Linked DNA regions of Homo sapiens: regions 1 and 2 are each linked to region 3. Evidence: promoter capture Hi-C in 16 types of primary human blood cells and fetal thymus (Javierre and others, 2016). All regions are on one chromosome and are shown on one strand. Each heading gives the region's core, a stretch centred on a gene start or on the middle of the fragment in contact. The rest is flanking DNA. Distances are from core to core; before and after follow the strand shown.

Evidence for each region. Contacts are between HindIII fragments. The CHiCAGO score rates a contact against its expected background, and 5 or more counts as called.
Region 1: a contact is called between the fragment with the promoter of TIMM17B here and the fragment with the promoter of PPP1R3F in region 3, in 1 of 17 cell types (neutrophils). The highest score is 7.0, in neutrophils.
Region 2: a contact is called between a fragment that was not itself captured here and the fragment with the promoter of PPP1R3F in region 3, in 2 of 17 cell types (non-activated CD4 T cells and total CD4 T cells). The highest score is 5.7, in non-activated CD4 T cells.

Annotation. Positions count from the first base shown.
Region 1 is chrX:48,896,370-48,899,470 of GRCh38, reverse strand. It overlaps TIMM17B (translocase of inner mitochondrial membrane 17B), which reads left to right and starts at 1,703. Exons shown (of 6, transcript NM_001395498.1): 1 at 1,703-1,747; 2 at 2,613-2,712. The coding sequence starts at 1,722. It overlaps PQBP1 (polyglutamine binding protein 1), which reads right to left and starts at 1,541. Exons shown (of 7, transcript NM_001032382.2): 1 at 1,389-1,541; 2 at 895-979. The coding sequence starts at 961. RefSeq lists enhancers at 878-1,097, 1,148-1,517, 1,808-2,007, 2,038-2,187. The HindIII fragment of the contact is 9,862 bases long and covers 1-3,101 here.
Region 2 is chrX:49,758,466-49,761,687 of GRCh38, reverse strand. No RefSeq gene overlaps it. Among named protein-coding and RNA genes, the nearest start is that of PAGE1, 64 kb to the right of the region's middle. The HindIII fragment of the contact is 1,726 bases long and covers 444-2,169 here.
Region 3 is chrX:49,268,473-49,271,568 of GRCh38, reverse strand. It overlaps PPP1R3F (protein phosphatase 1 regulatory subunit 3F), which reads right to left and starts at 1,776. Exons shown (of 4, transcript NM_033215.5): 1 at 696-1,776. The coding sequence starts at 1,699. RefSeq lists a silencer at 1,501-1,740 and enhancers at 2,441-2,490, 2,188-2,687. The HindIII fragment of the contact is 7,823 bases long and covers 1-3,096 here.

The sequences.
Region 1 (3,101 bases), core at 454-2,953, 370 kb after region 3:
TACAGGCATGCACCACAACACACGATTAATTTTTGTATTTTTTGTAAAGACGGGGTTTTGCCATGTTGCTCAGGCTAATCTCTTAATCCCTAAACTCAAGCAATCTACCCGCCTCAGCCTCCTAAAGTGCTGGGAATGCCAGCTTGAGCCGCCACGCCCAGCCAGTCAGTATTGTTAAGAATGAAATATCTGCCGGGCACAGTGGCTTATGCCTGTAATCCCAACCCTTTGGAAAGCCAAGGGTGGGGGGTGGATCACCTGAGGTCAGGAGTTAGAGGCCAGCCTAGCCAACATGGTGAAACCCGTCTCTACTAAAAATGCAAAAATCAGCCGGGTGTGGTATCACGTGCCTGTAATCCCAGCTACTTGGGAGGCTGAGACAGGAAAATCGCTTGAGCCCGGGAGGCGGAGGTTGCAGTGAGACGAGATCACGCCACAGCACTCCAGCCTGGGCGACAGACCGAGACTCTGTCTCAAAAAAAAAAAAAAAAAAATTGCCAGGTGTGGTGGGGCGGGGCGTGCCTGTAGTCCCAACTACTCGGGAAGTTAAGGCAGGAGAATCGCTTGAACCTGGAAGGCGGAGGTTTTAGTGAGCCGAGATCGCGCCACTGCACTCCAGCCTGGGTGCACAATAAGACTCTGCCTCAAAAAAAAAAAAAAAAAAAAAAAAAAAAAAAAAAAAAAAGAATGAAATATCTATTCCCCCAACCCCCTCCACTTGACACGCGGTAGGGATGGATGTCAGGAATCCACATTGTTAACAACGAAAAATGCCTGCCACCCCATTGCTTGGTGCACAGTTGGCCCATGCTAGGTATCAAGCGTCAGTATCAACAACAAAAGTGCCTGTCGAGGCTGGCACGTGTTAGGACCATCTGCTTTTAGCTGTCTCACCAGGCTCCAGATGTTTGAGGATGCCTCTCTTGGCCAAGCGGGTCTGCAGCGCAACGGGCAGCGGCATAGCTGATAGCAGACAGACCTAGGGACAGACGAACAAACTGACAAGCAGCTCAGATAAAGATTCCTATCTGGATCCCGTAACCAAGCGCCTCCCGTAAACATGTACTCATCTGACTCCGATCTACTCAAATGAACCAGTAGCTGGGTGGACAGAACATACGCACTAAAAGATGTAAGAGGTAGGTGGCAATATCATCGCAACTCCCACCAACCCTACTGTCCCCGAAACCAGGTGCTCCAGGGCCCTGTTCCTCTCCCAGGCCCAGGCTCCGCCCACAGCCTAAGAAGCCCGGCCCCTCCGCACTTCAGAAATGGGCTCATCCAGCGTCCCCATGACTGCCGGGTGGGAGAAACCAAAGCGCTGGGATGGGGGAGCAGAGGGCAGCACTTCCTCCAGCTCCAAAAGAGTGCACCCACCCCAACGTTACCAATACACTCGTGCAGGTAGTGGAAGGCTGTCACACCGCCCGTCTCTCTCGTGTCGCCGCTACGATACCTGGGCCCACACGACTCTCTTCCCAAAACACCGAATGAGACCTTCTCTCAACGAGGCCTTCACTCCCCGAGCCTGAAAGTAACTGGACTACGCTCAGGAGGCAATGAACAAATGGCAGAAACTCGATTGGCCAATGAGAGTGCGTCCTTGGCGTGACATGCGGTATAGCGACCCAATCGCTGCCCGGTAATAGGCGGAAAGCTCCGACGCCGGTGTGCGTCTACGCTGGGGGCGTGGCCTGACTGCGCGGCCAGACGCCAGCGCCATGGAGGAGTACGCTCGGGAGCCCTGGTACGGCAATGGGCACAGGCATCCGGAATATTGCTGCGACGCCAAGGCCAGCCGTGGGGGTCGGGCGGGGGAGGCATCGGCCGCACAGAGCCATGTACCAGACTCGGGGGACTCTTAACGTATCTCCCGCTACCCCCACTCGGTTCCTGTCATTCGGGCTCCGTTATGAGGGGCCACAACCAGAGAAGGTGCGGCGAAGGCCGAACCACGCCATGTTTCTCCTGACTTCGTAATCTCCTAGCCCTGTTAACGAAAAAAGACACGCTGGACGATCCATCCCGGCTAGGGGTGGTACGGTGTTGACCGGAAATCCCCAGAGTTGCCGCCAGTGGTTTTTCCCAGGTCGCCTTTGTCAGTGGGGGGCGGGGCACGGATGAACCTGTTGAGGGCCGGCGGGGACGGTGGATGCTTCCCGCGGTCGCTCTTGGTTTTTCCCAGTTGTGCCGGATTGAAAAGGGGCGGGGCATGGTTGGACGGGCTCACCGTCGGAGAAGGGGTGCGACGCGGTCCTGCTTTGCTGACAGTCTGTCTTGGCTAGTTAACACGCCTATGTCGCTTATTGAAACGTCAACTCTGCGTGTGCCAATTCATTTAATCTTTGATCACAGTAAAACCGTTGGCTGATTCCTTGGTTGGTAGACAGGGCGAAGACTAATATTTCTCCCCCTTTGCCCCATTTCTCGCTTTAATGGGGGGGTGTGTGGAAAAAGCGTGACAGAACTAGCTCATTATTATCTGAAGTGTTTGTTCCTACTTAGGAACTTCCCATTCTGGTGACTTGGTTTCTCCCAGTTAGAAAAGAGTTCGTGTGACAGGACCTGGGGGAGGGCTCACATTAACCCCGTCCTTCCCTTCCTGCTTGCAGCCCATGGCGAATTGTGGATGATTGCGGTGGAGCCTTCACTATGGGTGTCATCGGTGGCGGAGTCTTCCAGGCCATCAAGGGTTTCCGCAATGCCCCTGTTGTGAGTCCAGGCCTTCCCTGGGTTGGTGTGGGGTTAGCTATCTTGCCCACAAGGGAGGCTGCTCTGAAAACTGCTTGGAGCTGCCAGTCACGTGCACTTATTCATTCTGGTGCCCACTCACCTACTATGTGCCGAGCCTGGCTCCTGTATCTGGGATTTTGTAGGGATTGCAAACATGGCCTCTGTCTTCCACCCTCCACCCCACCCAACTGGAGCTCCTCTGTGGAAATGCTGTGTCGTTCAAAGAGTCATCACCAAATTTTAAATGTATGTGCAAAGCCAGACAGTTTTTTTTTTTTTTGAGACAGTCTTGCTCTGTTGCCCAGGCTAGAGTGCAGTGGCACGCTCTTGGCTCACTGCAACCTCTGCCTCCTGGGTTCAGGCAATTC
Region 2 (3,222 bases), core at 57-2,556, 490 kb before region 3:
AACAGTGACTCTTAGAGGCCTCTAGCCGCAATAACAGCAAATCAGTTCAGCAATCTGAAAGAATGAGCCATTTGGACCTGCATTTTCCAAATTATTGAAACAAACTCTTTTGGCAGGCACTATTTTTAGAAAAGTAGTATTCATTTCTCTGCCATCTTATAAAGAGCATGGAAATCACCACTTAATTCTTCATTGTCCATACCTATTAGTATAAACATCTGCTTTTGGGCCAAGTGCAATGTCTCACACCTGCAATCCCAGCACTTTGGGAGGCTGAGGTGGAGGATCACTTAAGACCAGAAGTTCATCCTCAGATGCCCATCCAGAGAAGGGGAGCTGGTGCTATTCAATGGGCTCCAGATGGAAATGTGCCTGAGCTGCAGACTTCAGGGGAATACTTGAATAAGTTCAGTGAATTTTTGTCCTTCTCTTCATAGAAAGCTTGACTTGCTTTGTCATGTTTCCACGTGTAACCAAAGCCAGATGAAGAAATACAGACACTCTACCATACAAACTCTGTAACCTACACATCCAAATTGAGTAAAACCAAAGACTGCAGCTGGGGCCGCCAAGAAGCTGCAGGAAGAAGTAAGCAAGCAGGACCTCAGCAGGCAAATTTACTGGGGTCAGGAGCACAGGCTTGAGATAGGGCATCCCCAGCCCCCACCCCACTAAAAGACACCAGGTCCAGGAGATCTTAGGGCTATGCTTCTCAGCACCACGTGGTTGGCTCAACTCCTTTGCCCTGGCTGCAATGCCACCACATTACTGGCCCACATCCATGTGACGCTAAGGCAGAAAGATGGAATGTAAAGGGTATGGGATTTGGATACAGACAGACCTGGATTTGCGTTTTAACTCTTCCATGTATGCGCTGCTGCGCTTTATGCAAGTTACTGAACAGCTCTGTGCCTCGGTCTCCTCATTAACATGAAGATGATAGTGCTACTCTGCCACAGGGTTATTGTGAGGATTAAAGATAAGGCACACAAAGCTCTCAATAACAGTGCGTAGGACATAGTAGTCATGGCAACCAATAAATGGTAGCTGTTTTTCTCTGTTCTGTGTGAAAAAAGCTGGACACAAAAGGTCACATATTGTATGATTTCATTTATATGAAATGTCCAGAACAGATAAATCCATAGAGACAGAAAGTAGATTAGTGGTTGCCAAGGGCTGAGTGGAGGGTGACTGCTAATGGATACAGAGTTTCTTTTAGGGGTGATGAAAATGTTCTAAAATTAGACAGTGGTGATGGCTGTGCAACATAGTGGACATACAAAAATCACTGAATTGTACAAAGTATACAGTTGTAAATTTTATGGCGATGTGTATTATTTCTTAATCAAATAATAATTAAAATGATTAACAAGGTAAGTTTTATGGTATGTGAATTACGTCTTAACTAGAATTTTTAAATGACCTATACTTGTTTGTGAATATGAATAGAAATAAATATTTCTAAAATGTGGATAATAGTAGTACCTGACTCATAGGGTTTTTGTGAAAATGAGTTGATTTTTAAAAAATATTTAGACTAATGCTGACACACTATAAAAGCTCAATAAATGTCAGTTATAATTATTACTGTTATTGTCATTGTCATGGTCATCATCATTTTCATCACAGGGAGCATAGTTTAATAGTCAAGATCAATGGGGTTTGAGTTAAACAGACCTGGTTTAAAATCTGATTTCATACTTGGCAGTATATATTATAATAATTAATGATGTAGCTACTGGCTTCAGACTATCTTCATCAAAATCCTCACTCCACCATTTACCATTTGATTTTAGGCAAGTCTTCATCTTCAACCCCTCTGTGCCTCAGTTTCTTCATCTGTAAAATGGGGGTGATAATAGTTCATACCTAATGTCATGCCATGAAAATCGATTGATGTATCCATTAGAATGCTGATATGATTTGGCTCTGTGTCCCCACCCAAATCTCAAGTTGAATTGTAATTCCCAGTATTGGGGAGGGACCTGGTGGGAGGTGATTAGATCATGGGGGCGGATTTCCCCCTTGCTGTTCTCTTGATAGTGAGTTCTCATGAGATCTGATGGTTTAAAAGCGTGTAGTGCTTCCCCCTTCGCTCTCTGTTCCTCCTGCTCTGCCATGTGAAGAAGGTGCTTGCTTCTCCTTCAACTTCTGCCATGATTGTAAGCTTCCTGAGGCCTTCCCAGCCATGCTTCCTGTCCAGCCTGTGGAACTGTGAGTTCATTAAACCTCTTTTCTTCATAAATTACCCAGTCTCAGGTAGTTCTTTATAGCAGTGTGGGAACAGACTAATACAGGTGCTTTTGGCTTCAGGTTTCAGAAACCTGGCTCAATTCGTCTGAAACCAAATAGGAAAAAAAGAAGGGATAGGAAAGAGAAAATAATTAATTGAGAAAACACAATACAAATCAAGAAGGGAAGGAGAAAGAAAAAGAAAGGAGAGAGAAAGACAGAGAAGGGTTTAGAGAGGTTTATTTTCAGTAGCCATTAGTTTTGGGATGCTTCCCAGAGACTTCTCTGCCCAAATTTTCTTCCTGGGTTTCTAAGATTATTCTTCTTATGTTTTTAGTATAAACTGCTTCAAACTCTTTTGGTAATAGGCAGGCACTAAATAAAACAATACTACCTTGCCTTATAGGCTTGTTGTTATCTCTGCTCTCTAGGAGTATAAATCTCATGGAGAAGACTGTGCAAAAAAAATTTTTTTTTTTGAGACAGAGTTTCACTCTTGTTGCCCAGGCTGGAGTGCAATGGTGCAATCTTGGCTCACTGCAACCTCCACCTCCTGGGTTCAAGCGATTCTCCTGCTTCAGCCTCCCAAGTAGCTAGGACTATAGGCATGCACCACCATGCCCGGCTAATTTTTATTTTTAGTAGAGACAGGGTTTCGCCATTTTGCATAGACTGGTCTCAAACTCCTGCTTCAGCCTCCCGAGTAGCTGGGATTACAGGCGCCCGCCACCACACCCAGCTAATTTTTTTTGTATTTTTAGTAGAGACAGGGTTTCATCATGTTGGCCAGGCTGGTATCGAACTCCTGACCTCAGGTGAGCCGCCCGCCTCAGCCTCCCAAAGTGTTGGGATTACAGGCGTGAGCCACTGCGGCTGGCACAAAATATTTTAACAATGTAACATTTCTGCCCAGTCAATGGGATCATTCGGAAAGGCATTTTGCTTCTTTTTTCTTTTTTAAGCAACAGGGTCTTGCTCTGTCATCCAGGC
Region 3 (3,096 bases), core at 527-3,026:
CCCCACTGGCAAAGCCCTTGGTCCACACTATGTCATTGCAGTTCTCTCCACTCCAGCACACTGCTGATCATTCACACCAAGCTCATTTCCACCCCAGGACCTTTGCACTTGCTGTTTCCTCTACCTAGAACACCCTTGTTCCATATATGCACATAACTGTTATTCATCATCCAGGACTTAGTTTAAATGAAACCTCCTCAGAAAAGTCCTCCCTGTTCCTTTTCCTACAAACTCTCCCCCACCTCCCCACCGTATCTGCATAACTCTTCTTTATCATCATTCGGGACTCACCTCCTCAAAGGCCCTCCCTTTAACAGCATGTCTGACACAGTCATTCCCTCCCAATCTATCCCCTTACTCCCTTCAGCAGCTAACTTTGTCCCTATTTATCCTATCTGCTTGCTTGCTTGTTTTTTCAAACTGTCTCCCATAGGAGCCTGTATGAATCCTTGAGGGTAGGGTAGATGTCTGTCTTGTTCAGGGCTTTACAGTGGAACTCAATAAATGGAGGAATAAAACCCCAGTTAAAACAGTGCCTAGCACGTGTTTGACCTCCATCACTCTTTGACTGACTGACTCAATGCACCCTCCTCCCTGTCCTGGAGAGCAGGCCTGAGGGGTTCCTGGGCCGGAATGCTTGTCCTCCATCCCAGACACAGCCCTGCGTTGGCGGAGGTGGCGCTGGCTGACATTACCTGCGCCTCACCGGCTTCATGCAGCTCTTCAGCTGCCTGGCCTCAGCCTCCACGGGACCCTGGCACTCGGGCTGTGGCTCCAGCTGCGGCAGCTGCTGCTGCTGGGGCAGCCCTTCGGCATCAGTGGGTGTGGGAGCGGGTGCGATCCGGAGCAGGACTGTGTAGTTGCGGCCGTGGTTGTTGGCCCAGAAAGTGCCCTCAGGGGTCTCATAGCGCACCACGAAGTCGAGGCGCGCCCCATCGCCCGCGCCCTCAGCAAAGGGCAGCTGGAAGGCAAAGCGGTCGGTGCGGCCGCCGTCGTCGGGCGAGGAGGCGGATGCCTGGCCGGGACCCAGGCCGAGCCCCGGATCCAGGATGGGATCTCCTGCTCCTGTTCCTCCCGCTCCTGCCCACGGCGGGCTGCGCGGGACGTAGCGCGCTGGGTGGTCGCAAAAGGAAGCCCAGCCGTCGTGTGAGGCCCGCACGTGCACCGCCTTCTCGAAGGAGCGGTTCAGCACGCGTACCAACCCGCGCAGCACCGGCGGGCGGCCCCCAGGCACCCACACCCCGGCACCCCCGGGGACCGCTCCGGGAGGCGGCAGCAGCGCCTCCAGCTCCACCATGACGCGCCCCAAGCGCTCCAGACGGCCCGGCGCGGGCGGCAGCGAAAATGTGGGGACCAGGTAAAACCCCCCGCCAGCGGGGACGGGGCACAGCGGTGAGGGCTCGGGGCAAGCCTCCTCTTCCTCCTCCCCTTCATCCCCATCCTCGCCATCGTCGTCCTCGTCGGCCCCGCCGCCGCCGCCGCCATCTTGCCCGGCCGCCGCCGCCATCTTGCCCGCCCCGGGCCCGCCCCACGGCCGGTAGCGGCGCAACTGCGCCAGCGGCAGCCCCAAGGCCTCGTCGGCGAACAGCACCCTCCGCGGGGCCACCGCCGCCTCGACCGAGGTGCGGGGCTCACCCGCGGCCGGCGAGGGGGGCGCGGAATGCCGCAGCGGGGGCTCCACAGGGGCCGTACGCGCCATATCGGCGGCGGCGGCGGCACCGACGGCACCGGCGGCGGGACCGGCGGGGGCAGGGCCTGAAGGGGCGGGCAGCCAATGGGAAGGCCAGCGCGGAGGGGTACGGCTCACGGGGGCATAGGCGGTGAGATGAAGACAAGTATTGCAGAGGGCCAATGGGCAGCCATGCACGGATGACGTACAGCGAATTGAGAGCCGGAGAAGCACGCAGCCAATGGGGATGCCCGGGAGTGGGCGGTGTAGGGGGCGGGATGATCGAGGAATCAATGGAGAGGCCGGAATGGGGGTGGTGCGAAATCCATGATGAAGAAAACAGAAGCAGACAGCTAATGCGGAAGTCTGAGCGAGAGAGGCATGTGGGCGGTGGGAAAAGTGGAATGGCTACAGGCGATGAGGGCAGCCGGGAACGAACGCAGAGGCCCAAAAAGTGGGAGATCCCGCGGGTTGCGTAGGCGGTGGAACGGTAGCTAGAGAGAGAGAACAGCCAATGGAGAGCCACGCGTGGGATGACGACAATGGCTGCAGCGAGCCAATGGGGAGGCTTGTGAGCGTGCACTGCGGCTTCGAAGGGGTGGTGCCAAGGTGGAGCTAGCCAATACGAAGGCTAAAAGGAGACCAAGAGGCGGGTGTGTAGGGAGCCGAGCCAATGGAGGTGGAGGCTGAAGGCGGGAGCGAGGACGAGAGCTGGCGGATAGCCAATGAGGGAGCCAGGGTGAAGGCGTAGAGACCTCAAAGGACAGTACTAGTATGGGATGAGCCAATGCCGAGGCTAGATAGTGCAGCGGGACGGAGGGAGGACTTGGAGGCAAGATGGGGAAAAAAGCAGAGCCGACGGGGGCAGTGTAGGTGGTGTGAAGGGAGGCATGAGTAGCCAATAAGGAGGCTGGAGAGGAGGACGCTGTGTAGACAGAGTCTGAGGTATTGGGTGGCCGGACAGCAGAACCATAGAACGCAGGCAGCCATTAGGAAAAATGTGCTTCTCAGGGATGGGGTTACCCTCTCCCTAACCCTCCGTGACTCCCCATTGCCCCAGGAATACCCAGAGCCCCTGAAGGCCTAGACCACACCTTGGTGTGTGAACTAGGAAAGTGAAAATGACTGTCCTGTTGCAGTTAGTTACTTACTGGGTCCTCCCTGCCCAACTACAACCTTTTCTTGAGCAGTGCCACAAGCCAAGAATGCCCCTGATTGTTAGCCGCAAGCACTCTCCAGGACTTGATACTATTGTTGAATGAATGGCCGAATAGGAAATTTAACTTTCTGAAGGATTCACTTTTTTAAATTTCAGCTCAGCAAACACTGACCTGACTGTGTGCTACCAGAAGTTGATTGGGCATATGGGTAGCTTCTGACTAATGGAATCACAATCAAAGCCCTGTCCTTCTTGCCCAACCTGACAC